Regions from separate parts of the Homo sapiens genome. Here region 1 is linked to region 2. The links are contacts of gene promoters, found by promoter capture Hi-C in human tissues and cell types (Jung and others, 2019). All regions are on one chromosome and are shown on one strand. The core of a region is centred on a gene start or on the middle of the fragment in contact, and the rest is flanking DNA. Distances in the headings are between cores, read along the strand shown.

The links. Contacts are between HindIII fragments. The study calls those that stand out against the background at their distance.
Region 1: the fragment with the promoter of CDK5RAP1 here is called in contact with the fragment with the promoter of SNTA1 in region 2 in 1 of the 25 tissues and cell types used here (psoas muscle).

What each region holds. Positions count from the first base shown.
Region 1 is chr20:33,397,624-33,404,444 of GRCh38, reverse strand. It overlaps CDK5RAP1 (CDK5RAP1 mitochondrial tRNA methylthiotransferase), which reads left to right and starts at 2,926. Exons shown (of 14, transcript NM_016408.4): 1 at 2,926-3,017. It overlaps LOC124904889 (a long non-coding RNA gene), which reads right to left and starts at 2,863. Exons shown (of 2, transcript XR_007067567.1): 1 at 2,770-2,863. RefSeq lists enhancers at 2,786-2,985, 3,126-3,215. The HindIII fragment of the contact is 17,720 bases long and covers 1-6,821 here.
Region 2 is chr20:33,439,205-33,446,296 of GRCh38, reverse strand. SNTA1 (syntrophin alpha 1) reads left to right here and starts at 2,534. Exons shown (of 8, transcript NM_003098.3): 1 at 2,534-2,986. The coding sequence starts at 2,677. RefSeq lists enhancers at 1,529-1,588, 1,560-2,060, 2,039-2,108 and silencers at 2,339-2,818, 2,929-2,988, 5,999-6,177. The HindIII fragment of the contact is 21,074 bases long and covers 1-7,092 here.

The sequences.
Region 1 (6,821 bases), core at 1,677-4,176, 42 kb after region 2:
AGTCCAGGGAATAGGCAATGATAAGAAAATAAGTAATGCCAACATTTTGAATAGTGACAAATATGGTGAAGAAAATAATAAGAGAAGTGATAGAGTAGTTTATATGAAGTGGTCAGAGAGGGTCTCTCTGAAGAGCTGATATTTATGCTGAGACCTAAAGGATGAGAAGGGGCCAGCCACGAAACAATTTTGGAGAAGAGCATTCCAGAAAGATAATAGTAAGAAGAGAAGCTCTGTGGGCATGGTGTTGCGTGCCTGTAATCCTAGCTACTTGGGAGGCTGTGGCAGGATAATTGCTTGAACCCGAGAGGTGGAGGTTGTAGTGAGCCAACATCACGCCATTGCACTCCAGCCTGGGTAACAGAGCAAGACTCCGTCTCAAAAAAGAAAAGAAAAAAAAAAAAGGACAGAGGGTCTGAAATAAACATTTGCTTGGGTTATTGAAGGAGCAAGATAAAATTATGTAGTTGAAGTATAGTCAACTAGAAAGAACACAGTAGGAGAAGTAAGTGGTAAGAAGTACATGGGTTGGAGAAGTAAAAGTAAGCAGGGGGCCAGACATGGTGGCTCATGCTTGTAATTCCAGCACTTTGGCAGGCTGAGGTGGGAGGATCACTTGAGGCCAGGAGTTTGAGACCAGCCTGGCCAACATGGCGAAAACCCATCTCTAGTAAAAACAAAAATCAGCCGGGCGTGGTGGTGCTCGCCTCTAATCCTAGCACTTTAGGAGGTCGAGGTGGGCGGATCACTTGAGGCCAGGAGTTTGAGACCAATCTGGCCAACATGGTGAAACCCTGCTCTACTAAAAATACAAAAATTAGTTTGACGTGGTGGTGCACGCCTGTAATCCCAGCTACTCGGGAGGCTGAGGCAGGAGAGTCGCTTTAACCTGGGAGGCGGATGTTGCAGTGAGCCGAGATTGCACTACTGCACTCCAGCCTGGGCGACAGAGTGAGTGAGACGTCGTCTCAAAAAAAAAAAGCAGGGGCCACATCATGCAGGCCCCTAGGATACAGTAGGAAATCTGGATTTTATTGCACGGGCAATGGAAAGCTCTTAAGCTTTTTGTTTTTGTTTTTTTCTTTTCTTTTCTTTTTTTTTTTTTTTTTGAGATGGAGTCTTGCTCTGTCGCCCAGGCTGGAGTGCAGTGGCTCGATCTTGGCTCACTGCAATCTCCGCTTCCTGGGTTCAAGCAATTGTCCTGCCTCAGCCTCCCGAGTAGCTGGGACTACAGGCACGCGGCACCATGCCCAGCTATTTTTTATTTTTTATTTTTAGTAGAGACGGGGTTTTACCATATTGGCCAGGCTGGTCTCGAATTCCTGACCTCATGATCCACCCACCTCAGCCTCCCAAAGTGCTGGGATTACAGGCATAAGCCACCGTGCCCGGCTGTTTTTGTTTTTTTCTTTTTCAAGACATGGTCTCATTCTGGTACCCAGGCTGGAGTGCAGTGTTGAGGTCATGGTTCACTGCCGCCTCAACTTCCCTGGCTCAAGCAATCCTCCCTGCCTCAGCCTTCTGAGTAGCTGGGACCACAGGTACCCACCACCATGCCGGGGTAATTTTTGTGTTTTTTGTAGAGATGGGGTTTTATCATGTTGCTCAGGCTAGTCTAGAACTCCTGGGCTCAAGCAATCTGCCCATCTTGGCCTCCCAAAGTGCTGGGATTACAGATGTGAGCCACCACGCCCGGCCTGCCACGGAGAGTTTTCAGGAGAGGGGTGATATAATTTGATTTAATAAAACAAACACAAATTCCCTTAGGCTATGTGTGGGAAACTGTTCTCAGGAGACAAGGTGACCATTAGCAGGCTACTGTGATTGTTTCTGATGAGACAATGGTGGCCTGGGTAGTTGTAGCTACCGAGTAGACAGATTTGACATTTTGGAGTTAGAGTTGACAGGGCTTACTGACAGATAGAATGTGGGGATCCAGGGAGGTGAAGAAAATGACCATTCAGTTCCTCCTAGTGCACCTGGAAGGATGGTTGGGCCATTTACTGAGATGGGCCAGAATGACAGGTACAGGTTTTTGGTGAAGGTGCATGTGTGGAAATGAAGAGTTCTGTATAAGTTAGAGATGGTCATCAGACACTCAAGAAGGGGTGTCAAGTAGGCAGCTGAGCTATGGCTCTGGTACTGCAGGGAGGGTCCAGCTGGAGATGTGAATCAGGAAGTCATTAACCTACAGGGCAGCACCCTCCAATAGAAATAGAGCGTGAACCTCTTAGGTGACTTAAAATTTCCCAGTAAGGACCGGACACGGTGGCTCATGCCTACAATCCCAGCACTTTGGGAGGCCAAGGTGGGAGGATGGCTTGCGCCTAGGTAGGAGTTTGAGACCAGCCTGGGCAACATGGGGAGACCGGTCTCTACAAAAAAATTAAAAAAATTTTAGCTGGGCGTGGTGGCGCCTGCCTGTAGTCCCAGCCACTTGGGAGTGTGAGGTGGGAGGATTGCTTTAGCATGGGAGGCGGAAGCTGCAGTGAGCCATGATCACACCATATTATTTTTCCCCCTGCTAGCCACATTGAAAAAGTAAAAAGAAACAACAGGTGAACTTAATTCAAATATTTCTACCACCATAGCTACAAATAAAAAAAACTAATTCAACAAATGTACTTATTTAATCCAATATATCCCAACAATTATTGCAGCACATAATCAATATAAACATTATATATATGAACTATTTGACACTATTTGACATTTCTTCTTCCACATCCAGTGTATCTGACATTTAGCGCACATTTGATTTGCACTCACCCACTTTGAGGAGCTCAATTGCCGCTTAAGTCCGTGGCTAGTGGCTGCCCTAAAGTTCAGCACCGCCACGGAGCTTTGGGTCCACCCGGACTGTAAAAAGGAAGCACTTCCGTTAGCATGACCCGGCCTGAAGTAGCGGCGGAACGGAAGTCGCTTGTGTATGAACGCAGCGGCGGACCTGTGAGGGGATCCGACTTGCCGGCAGAACTTACGCTGCGGGACCCCGGGCACTGTTGCTGCTGCGGGAGGTGAGCAGCGCGGCCGCCGGGGTGGGCTGCGCACCCGCTTTTGACTGGCGCCTGGGGCAGGAGGGGCCGCGGATCCCGGGAAGCGCACGGTGTTCAAGAGGGAGGATGGCACGGTGGTTATGGCGTGGGGCCTGGCGTCAGGCTGTAGGGGTTCGTACCCTAACCCCGCCGCCTAACCCCGTGTGACCTTGGACAGGTCACCTCCACTTCTTTCAAGGCTTCGCTTCGCCACCCGTGAAGTGGGGTTGACAGTACAGCCTGCCTCACAGGGTTGCTATGAGGGTTATAGGTAATAATTCGCGGAAAATGCTTTGCACCATGCCTAACGCATTGTAACCAGCCAATAAAATGTTTGGGATGTTGTACGCTGTTGTTCCAGCCTCATTGCCGACTGTCAGAATTAATTTCGAGCCTCCAGAGAGGCTTCTACATTGCGTTATGCAAAGCATTTTGCTTGTATTATTGCATTTGATCCTACGGTAGGCTTATGGAGATAGGTGCTATTATCCCCATCTAGAGGCTCCCAGAGTTTAAGACAGGTGCCTAAGGTTTAGCTGGCTTGGCAGCAGTGGGGTCAGATTCTGACTCCAGGGTCCATACTTTTTTTTTCTTGAGACGGGAGTCTTGCTCTGTCGCCCAGGCTGGAGTGCAGTGACGCGATCTCGGCTCACTGTAGCCCCTGCCCCGCGAGTTCCAGCGATTCTCCTGCCTCAGCCTCCTGGGTAGCTAGGATTACAGGCGCATACCACCACACCCGGCTAAGTTTTGTATTTTTAGTGGAGTTCATACTCTTAACCAGGATGCTCTAATACTCTCTGTGAAAGGGGGTGTGGGCTGTAAATGTGCAGTTAGTGAACGCTTACTGTATCTCAAGTTGGGTTTTTAATATCTTATTCTTAATAACACTTATGGGGTGGTAGGTGCTGCTTTTATCCTTATTTTACACATGTGGAATTGGCGGCTCAGAGACAGAAATTTGTCTTGCCAAAGGTCACACAGCAATTATGGAGTAGAAAGGGGCGATTTTAAAGTTCACACTTTAAGGCTGTTCTTCTCTGACTCTTGAAACTGGGTTGGCATTGCTCCTAAGTGCTAGTAGCAGATGTGGCAGGTCATCTCATTGGAAAGGTAATGGGCCACATCTGCTCTTTACACGTGTATAGCAGGGTTCCCCTAACCCTAGGTGGTAGAATGGTACCTGTCTGTGGCCTGTGAGGAACCGGGTTGCACAGCAGGAGGTGAGCAGCAAAGCTGGCATTACTGCCTGAGCTCTGCCTCCCGTCAGATTGGCCACGGAATTAGTTTCTCAGGAACACAAACCCTATTGTGAACTGCGTATATGCAAGGCATCTAGTTTGTGCATTCCATTTCCTTTTTTTTGAGACAAGTTCTCTCTCTCTCTGTTGCCCAGGCTGGAGTGTGGTGGCGCAATCTCAGCTCACTGCAATCTCTGCCTCCCTGGCTCAAGTGATCCTCCTACCTCAGCTTCCCAAGTTGCTGGGATTACAGGCACATACCACAATGGCTGGCTAATTTTTTATTTTTTAATTTGTTGTAGAGACAACAAATAAACATGGTCTTGCCATGTTGCCCAGGCTGGTCTCGAACTCCTGAGCTCAAACAATCCGCCTGCCTCGGCCTCCCAAAGTGCTGGGATTATAGATGTCAGCCACCGCACTGGCTCAAGATTGCATGCTCCTTGTAAGAATCTAAATGCCTGAGGTGGAACAGTTTCAACACACCCCTGCTTCCATGTCTGTGGAAAAATTGTCTTCCATGAAACCAATTCCTAGTACCAAAAAGGTTGGGAACCACTGATGTTTAGCACCTGCCGTGAGGCAGCTACCACAATGGGAGATGGTGAAGGTGTAGAAATGAATGATACTTGTTCCCTGCTTGCAGGAACCTGCCAGTTTACTAGGGCTGGCAGAAGTGTCAGTAATAATTAACAGCAAAGTGTGATGAGTCTTGTGATGGAGAGATAGAATAGAGCTTTGGGAACCCAGAGGAGGACCCCACCTAGACTTCGGGGGTGATGGCCAGAGCAGGCTTCCCAGAGGAAGAAAGCTGAAAGTACCATAGGCCACTAGAGAGAAGATAAATACCAGCCAGAGAACAGCATGTGTAAAATCCTATAAGCTAGTGAAGATTAATACAAAGAAGTGTGGCATGGCTGGAGTGTAGTAGGCCATAGATGTGGGGTCCAGTAAAAATATATGGTGATCCTAGAATTCTTCCTTAGTCAGAAAATTAAAAAAAAAAAAAGTAAATAGTATGGCTTCATCTCCTATACCTTAGTCACCTAAGTCTTCCTGGGAGGCAACTATTGTTTCTTATGCATTCTAGAGATATTGTATGTACCTGCAAATAGGTACCTCAATATTCCCACCCTCTTTCCCCACAGATTCAACAGTAGTATAATGTAGGTAGCATGGAGCATATTGCTTCCTTGCCTTTGTCATGTATAGGTTCAGCCTCATTTATTTTTATTTTTATTTTTTTGAGATAGGGTCTTACTCTGTCACCCAGGCTGGAGTGCAGTGGTGCGATTATGGCTTACTGCAGCATTGATCTCCTGGGCTCAAGCAATCCTTTCATCTCAACCTCCTGAGTAGCTGGGACTACAGGTGTGCATCACTGTGCTCGGCTATTTTTTGTTATTTTTATAGAGATGAGGTCTCACTATGTTGCCCAGGCTGGTCTCGAATTCCTGGCTCAAGTGATGTTTCTGTCTCAGCTTCCCAAAATGCTGGGATTATAGGCATGAGCCACTGCACCCGGCCACCAGCCTTGGTTTCTAACAGTTGTATCTTGTTTCATTGTATGGATGCACCAGAACTTACTTAACTAGTCCTTTATTGATAACATTTAGATCTTTCCCTTTCCTTTGCTATTAGAAACACTGTTGCATTGAATATCTTTTATTTTTATTTTTTGAGACAGTCTCACTCTGTTGCCCAGGCTAGAGTGCAGTGGCGTGATCTTGGCTCACTGCAACCTTCTCCTCCTGAGCTCAAGAGATTCTCATGCCTCAGTCTCCCGGGTATCTTAGAATACAGGTGTGTGCCACCACATCCAGCTAATTTTTTGTATTTTTAGTAGAGATGAGGTTTCACTGTGTTGGCCAGGCTGGTCTCGAACTCCTGGCCTGAAGTGATCCACCAGCCTCAGCGTCCCAAAGTGCTGGGATTACAGGCATGAGCCACTGTGCCTAGACTGAATGTCTTTATACATAGGTCATTTTGTATGTGTATAGATTTATCTGCAGGATAATTATGAGTGGAAATGCTTTGTCAGATGGTTTGCACACTTGTAATTTTGATGGAAAGTGGCAAATTGTTCTCTATAAAGGTTGTGTTATTTGCTAAGCCAAGTGTGAGAGGGTCTGGGTGGAAAGTTTGAAGGTAGTAGTTTGAAACTCTTTTTTTTTTGTTTTGAGATGGAGTTTCGCTCTGTTGTCCAAACTGTAGTGCAGTGGTGCGATCTCGGTTCATAGCAACTTCTGCTTCCTGGGTTCCAGTGATTCTCCTGTCTCAGCCTCCTGAGTAGTTGGGACTATAGGCACTTGCTACCACATCTGGCTAACTTTTGTATTTTTAGTAGAAATGGGGTTTTGCCATGTTGGTCAGGCTGGTCTTGAACTCCTGACCTCAAGTGATCCTCCTGCCTCGGCCTCCCAAAGTCCTGGGATTACAGGCATGAGCGGCTGCATCCAGCCAAGACTCTTGAAGGGTAGAAGGAGTCACTGATCGGGCATACAATGCCCTCACATTAGTTGCTTTCCTTCTGAAGGAACTCAAAGGA
Region 2 (7,092 bases), core at 1,285-3,784:
TTCCTCAGGCTGTCCTACAATCTTTAAGCACAGTCATACTTTTAAGATATCAATGCTTATATACAATGCTATATTCCTTCCCTGCCTCCCTTCTCTCCTTCCTTCCTCTCACTTTCTTTTATTTATTTTTGAGACAGGGTCTTGCTCTGTCACCCAGGCTGGAGTGCAGTGGCATGATTGTGGCTCACAGCAGCAGCCTCAAACAGGCCTCCTGCTGCAGCTTCCTAAGTAGCTGGGAGTACAGGTGCACATTACCACGCTTGGCTAATTTCTTTATTTTGTAGAGATGGAGTCTCGTGAAGTTGCCCAAGTGGTCTCAAACTCCTAGCCTCAAGTGATCATTCCTCCTCGGCATCCCATATATATATGTATAAAAGACCCTGGGTTCTTTTTTTAAAACCTGTGTCTCTCCTGTTTTGACACCTACCACTCTAACTTAAAACAATTCCTTTTTTTTGTTGTTGGTTTTTTTTTTTTTTTTTTTTGAGACGGAGTCTCACCCTATCACCCAGGCTGGAGTGCAGTGGTGCAATCTCTGCTTGCTGCAATCTCCGCCTCCCGGGTTCAAGTGATTCTCCTGCCTCAGCCTCCTGAGTAGCTGGGATTATAGGTGTCTGCCACCACGCCCGGCTAATTTTTTTATATTTTTAGTAGAGATGGGGTTTCACCATGTTGGCCAGGCTGAGTCTCAAACTCCTGACCTCGTGATCTACCTGCCTCGGCCTCCTAAAGTGCTGGGATTACAGGCATGAGCCACCATACCTGGCCCCCTCTTTTTTTTCTTGATGGTATCTTATGTGGAGGATTTTACCCAAAAGTTCAGGGAGGCTAAACACTGGTGTAGTCCTACTTATTTATTGCTCAACATATCCCAGCTAGGAATGGAGGATAGAGACAAGGAGCAGGTATGAAGGCCAGTTGAGCTGTGTGATGTGGTGGATTTTTCAGATTACAATCATGCTTTACCTCTGTATTTGTCAGCTGTCTAGCAGAGTGGTTCAGTGCCCAGGCACTGGTGTCAAACAGGCCTGGGTTTGAATCGCAGCTCTTCCTCACTCATAAATGTGTGACCTAGGCCAATTAGACTAAATCCAAGTTTTCCCTTCTGTATAATAGGGGTGCTCTTTTTTCTTGCTCTGTCACCAAGGCTGGAGTGTGATGGTGCAATCACAGCTCACTGCAGCCTGGACCTCCAAGGCTCAAGCGATCCTGCCACCTCAGCTGTGATTACAGGTGTGAGCCACTGTGCCCAGCTGGGGGTGCTCTTAGCTACTCCAGGAGGCTAATGTAAAGATAACACTTGGAAAATATTCTGCCAGCCCTAGGTAAGAGTAAGCATTCACTAAATGAAAGTGATTATTTCTATAGAATAGGGAGTCACAGTTTACCACGTGTTTTCACATTGATTTAATCCTCACACCAGCCCAGTGAAGTAGGTATTATTATGATCCACATTTTACAGATGAGGAAATTGAGGCCTAGAGCAGTGACGTGAGGGGACCAAAGTCGACTTGGAGCTAACAGAGGCAGCAAAGATTAGAAACCATGTCTCCAGTCGCCCAGACCCAGAGCCCCACCTTGCAACCCTCTTCCCACACACCAGTTCTGTTTTTTTTCTGCCAGGCCTCAAAGTGTGGGACTTCAGGCTTTTCTATACTCGACTGTGAACACAGCCAGGGGTTAATCTCTTAAACTTCCCTCCAGTTTTGAAGTGGGGATCCTGCCCACACCTCCCCCAAGCCCTAAGCGGTGTCGGTAGCGGTCTCCTCCAGGGGGCGGGGCCTGTCATCTTTAGAAGCCACGCCAGCGATAAGCCACGCCCACAGACCAAAGCCTCGACCCCCACCCCCCATCCCCCGCCCTCCCCGATAGGAAACCAACTTCTTCCTCAGCTCCCCAACTAGCAACTGTGCCCGCAAGGTCTCTCGCGGCTCAGCATCTACCTTTTTTTTTTTTTTTTTTTTTTGACACAGGGTTTCGCTCTGTCACCCAGGCTGGAGTGCAGTGGCGCGATCGCGGCTTACTGCAGCCTCGAGCTTCTGGGCTGTCATCTAGGCCTCCCAAAGTGTTGGGATTACAGGCGTGAGCCTCCACGCCCAGACGGTGTCTACCTCTTAAACTCAAGCCTTGGAGTCCAACGCTCTACCATACGCAGCCCAGCCCTCCGCCATATGCAGCCCAGCCCGATGCCCAGTGCTTCGCACCAGGATACGTGGTTCTGTCTCTTTTTCATGCGCTCCCACGTCCGGGAGTTACAGTCCCGGCCCTCGATGGGCATTCCGAGCGCCGAGCCCCCTGCGCGGGCTCACTGGGTTCCGCCCCCGACGCGAAGCCCCGCCCCCTGACGCCCCGCCCAGCACCACGCCTCCCGGGCTTTCGCCTTACTTAGTGGCCCGCCCCGCCGCCCTTCTGACCCACCCCGCTAGGTAGTCCCACACGGCGGCCCTCGGCTCCCGGGCCCCGCCCCGGCCTCCTGCATTTGCCCGAGGCCCCCTCCCCAGCACTGGCCACACCCCAGGGTAGCCCCGCCCCCAGAGCTCCTCCCCCAGCGGCCGGGGTAGGGTGGCGGCTGGCCCAGCCGGGCCCCCGCTGCCCTCTGCCCTGGGCGCTTGGTCGGAGCGGGCTGGGCAAAGCGGGACAGGGCGAGCGCGGCGGCCCGGGGGCTCGGAGGCGAAGATGGCGTCCGGCAGGCGCGCCCCGCGCACCGGGCTGCTGGAGCTGCGCGCCGGGGCGGGCTCGGGGGCCGGCGGCGAGCGATGGCAGCGGGTGCTGCTGAGTCTGGCGGAGGACGTGCTGACCGTGAGCCCCGCCGACGGCGACCCTGGTCCCGAGCCCGGCGCTCCGCGGGAGCAGGAGCCCGCGCAGCTCAACGGCGCCGCGGAGCCGGGCGCCGGGCCCCCGCAGCTGCCAGAGGCGCTACTGCTCCAGCGGCGCCGCGTGACGGTGCGCAAGGCCGACGCCGGTGGGCTGGGCATCAGCATCAAAGGTGGGCGCGGGACACCGAGGGCGCGGGGTCGTGGTGTCTGGGGGCAGCCGAGGGCGCAGGGGGCTGGCAGCGCGCCCAGGACATGGAGCTGGAGGCTTCCTGTCTGGGGGTAAGGGGGGTCTGAGGAAACAGGTAACGGAGGGCACTGGGCACACCAAGGTTGGAGGGGGTTTCAGTAGTTGGTGGCCTTAGGGGGCACGGAAGACACAGGTGTGGATAAGATTGTGGGAGCACCAAGGACACGTGGGTGGGAGTTCTGTGTGGAGGCGGGGGGGTCTGAGGGGTAACCAGCATGAACATCAAGGACAAGAGGGGTCCCCCGGAAAGCAGAGTGTGGAGAAAGGGGGTTGAGGCCGGGACACCAGTGGGACAGGGAGGAGGGAGTCCCTGAGAAGCAACCAAGGTGGGTGCAGAGGGGAAGCCTGGAGTCTGGGAAGCACAGGGGTGGATAGGAGGCCTGGGTGCAGGCACAGGCTGGGGTCACAGGCAGAAGGCCAGCAAGGACCTAGGAATCTAAGGACCCAGGAAGGCTGCAGGGAGCCCTGACAGCTGGATTTGGGTCTCCTGATCTGACTATCTCCACCTTGCACAGGATAGAGCTTTCAGCCCCCAGGACTGACCGCTAGTGGGGTGCAGTTAGGGTGCAACCAGACTGTGTTTGAATCCAGGATCAGCTGTGTGAGGTTGCAAAAGTCCCGTCCCGCCTCTGAATCTGTTTCCTCAACTGTATAAGAGGATGACAGAGTTGTGATGTTTCTGAGAGCAGGGCTCACCACACCAGCACACTGTAGGTGCCTAGTTAATTACTGCTGTTAGCGGAGAGGAAAAATGGAGGCCAGCAGATACTCCCAAAGCAACTAAACATAGTTGTTAAAATCCTTGCACACCCCCAGCTGCTGGGTTCACTATTCCTGCCCATCTGTTTCTCAGGGTCCCAGCCCCCAGCAGGTGCTTTGGGAAAGGGTATCAGCCTTTGTCTCCACCTTGAATACATACCGTACCCTCTGGGGTCTCCCTGGTACTGGTTCTGTTGACTAGTGCCTCCAGACCGTTTGGCTTGGCTGAGGCGGTGGGGATGGTGGTGAATGCCACCACTGTGTGCCAGGTGCTGTGCCCAGGACACTAGTCTCATGATCCACTTCATCCTGGCAACAAGTGGTGAAAGGTAGGGAGTATAATTCCCATATTGCAGGTGAAGAAACTGAGACTCAGAAAGTTAAAATGATTTTCCCACGATTACATAGTGAGTGTCAGTGCTGGGATTTGAACCTTAATTATCAGCTACTGTCCCTCAGAGAGTGCTCAGGGAAGTTGATTCTTTCCTGTAGAAGGGCAGATCCCCAGGCAGCCAACCAAGAGGGGCTAAAAAGGAGAAATGAGAAAATGAGGGTATGGGCACCAGTCTTACCCCCAATCTCCAGCATGGGATAGGGCAACAGATGAATCCAAAAATTATACACTCAGTGTGTCAAAGCAGGAAGGAACTTATTCATACAGAATTCCATTCTGCAGATGGACACACTGAGACTCAGAGAGGAGCAGGGACTTTGCAAGGTCACACAAAGTTACTCCCCAGCTCCATAATTCTAGGTGGAGGGGAGGGTACTTTTAGGAGACTTCAGGTATTTCCATTGGATCCAAATCTGGGCTCCTGTTGCCATGGTAACCCCTCCTATAAAGTCTAGCTTAGTCTGAGGCAGCCATGAGTGATCATAGCTTCAAACTGAACTGAAGCCCCTAGTTTCAGGTGGGGGAGGGCAGATATAAATAGAAACCCCTTCCTCTCCTAGACTTCAAGCTCTGTGCAGATAAGCAAACGGTCGGGCCTGTGTGGGCGTCAAGAGAGGTGTTCCAGTCCCAGCTCCGCCACCAGACTTGTGTGACCTTGGAACAATGACCTCCCACTCTGGGCCACTAATTCTTCATCTTCAGTATTCTGGGGATGAGCCAGGAGTGTGATATCTGAGGGCCTGACTTGTCGTCTGTGGTAGGGCTAATAGTGTTGGTTCTGGAGCCTGGAGGCCTAGGTGCAAATACTGGCTTCGCTACTTACTAGTGGAGTGACCTTGGACAAGGGGCTTCCCTCCACACTTCAGTTTCCCTAATAGGAAACTGAACATACCTATGTGATGGGGTATTGTAAAGACGCAATGAATCAACATTGAAAGCATTTAGCACAGTGCTTGGCATTTGGTAAGTGCAACTAAGGTGAACTCTTATTACTATTTCTTATTTTAAAAGGGCATTTAAGAGTTTGGTAATAAAGATGTTTAGTAAAATGTATTAGCTTCTTTTGTATCCAAGATGCCATTCAGGCAGGTTTTTAGAATCTCTAGACTCTAAGGCTTTGGTTTCCAGCCTGGACTTTGGATTGTAAAACATTATGATTGCTAAAGCAGTCTTTTGAGGCCATAGGAATAGCCGACTTGTCTCTTGATTCCGGTTTGAGGGGTATCAGTGGGTTCCCACATTGTTGCCTTTTTGTGTGTGTGTGTGAGACAGTCTTGCTCTGTTGCCCAGGGTGGAGTGCAGTGGTGCGATCTCGGCTCACTGCAATCTCCACCTCCTGGGTTCAAGCAGTTCTCGTGCCTCAGCCTCCTGAGTAGCTGGAATTATAGGCACACACCGCCATGCCTGGCTAATTTTTGTATTTTTGTTTTATTTTGAGATGGAGTCTTGTTCTGTCGCCCATGCTGGAGTGCAGTGGTGTGATCTTGGCTCACTGCAACCTCCACCTCCTGGGTTCAAGCAATTCTGCTGCCTCAGCCTCCTGAGTAGCTGGGACTACAGGCATGTGCCACCAGGCCCAGCTAATTTTTTGTGTTTGTATTTATTTATTTATTTATTTATTTTTTGAGATGGAGTTTCGCTCTTATTGCCCAGGCTGGAGTGCAATGGTGCAATCTTGGCTCATTGCAACCTCAGCCTCCCGGTTCAAGCAATTCTCCTGACTCAGCCTCCCGAGTAACTGGGATTACAGGCATGCGCCCCCATGCCCGGCTAATGTTTGTACTTTTAGAAGAGATGGGGTTTTGCCATGTTGGCCAGGCTGGTCTTGAACCCCTAACCTCAGGTGATCTGCCCATCTTGGCCTCCCAAAGTGCTGGGATTACAGGCGTGAGCCACCACGCCCAGCCATATTTTTTTATTTGTTTATTTTTTTATTATGTATTTATTTACTTTTTTGAGCAGAGTTTCACTTTTGTTGCCCAGGCTAGAGAGCAATGGCGTGATCTCAGCTCACTGCAACCTCCGCCTCCTGGGTCCAAGTGATTCTCCTGCCTCAGCCTCCCGAGTAGCTGGGATTACAGGCATCCGCTACCACGCCCAGTTAATTTTTTGTATTTTTGGTAGGGACAGGGTTTCACTATGTTGGCCAGGCTGGTCTCGAACTCCTGACCTTAGGTGATCCACCTGGCAGCCTTGGCCTCCCAAAGTGCTGGGATTACAGGCATAAGCCACCGCACCTGGCCCTTTTTTGTGTTTTTAGTAGAGGCAGGATTTCGCTATGTTGGCCAGGCTGGTCTCAAACTACTGGTCTCAAGTGATCCGACCACCTTGGCCTCCCAAAGTGTTGGGATTACAGGTGTGAGCCACTTTGTCCGGTTATTTTCATTTTTAATTTTTGTGCGTACATAGTAGGCATATATATTTATGGGTTACATGAGAAAATCGAAAACATTTAAGAAAAAGTGATTGAAGCACTTTGTAAGTTGCACAAACACTGGTGAACACCCAAAGCACTTAATCAAAAGATCCAGGGATCAAACTATAGCATTATGAATTTTGAAAATGATTTATTTAATTAATTAATTTATTGAGACAGGGTCTCCTTCTGCCACCCAAGCTGGAGTGCAGTGGCACAATCTCAGCTCACTGCAGCCTCGACCTCCTGGGCTCAAGTGATCCTCCTACTTCAGCTTCCCTAGTAGCTGAGACCACAGGTGCCTGGCTAATTTTTGTATTTTTAGTAGAGGCGGGGTTTTCCCATGTTGCCCAGGCTGATCCTGAACTCCTGACCTCAGGTGACCTGCCCACCTCAGCCTTCTAAGGTGCTGGGATTACAGGCATGAGCCACCGGACCTAATCAAAAATGATTTATTATT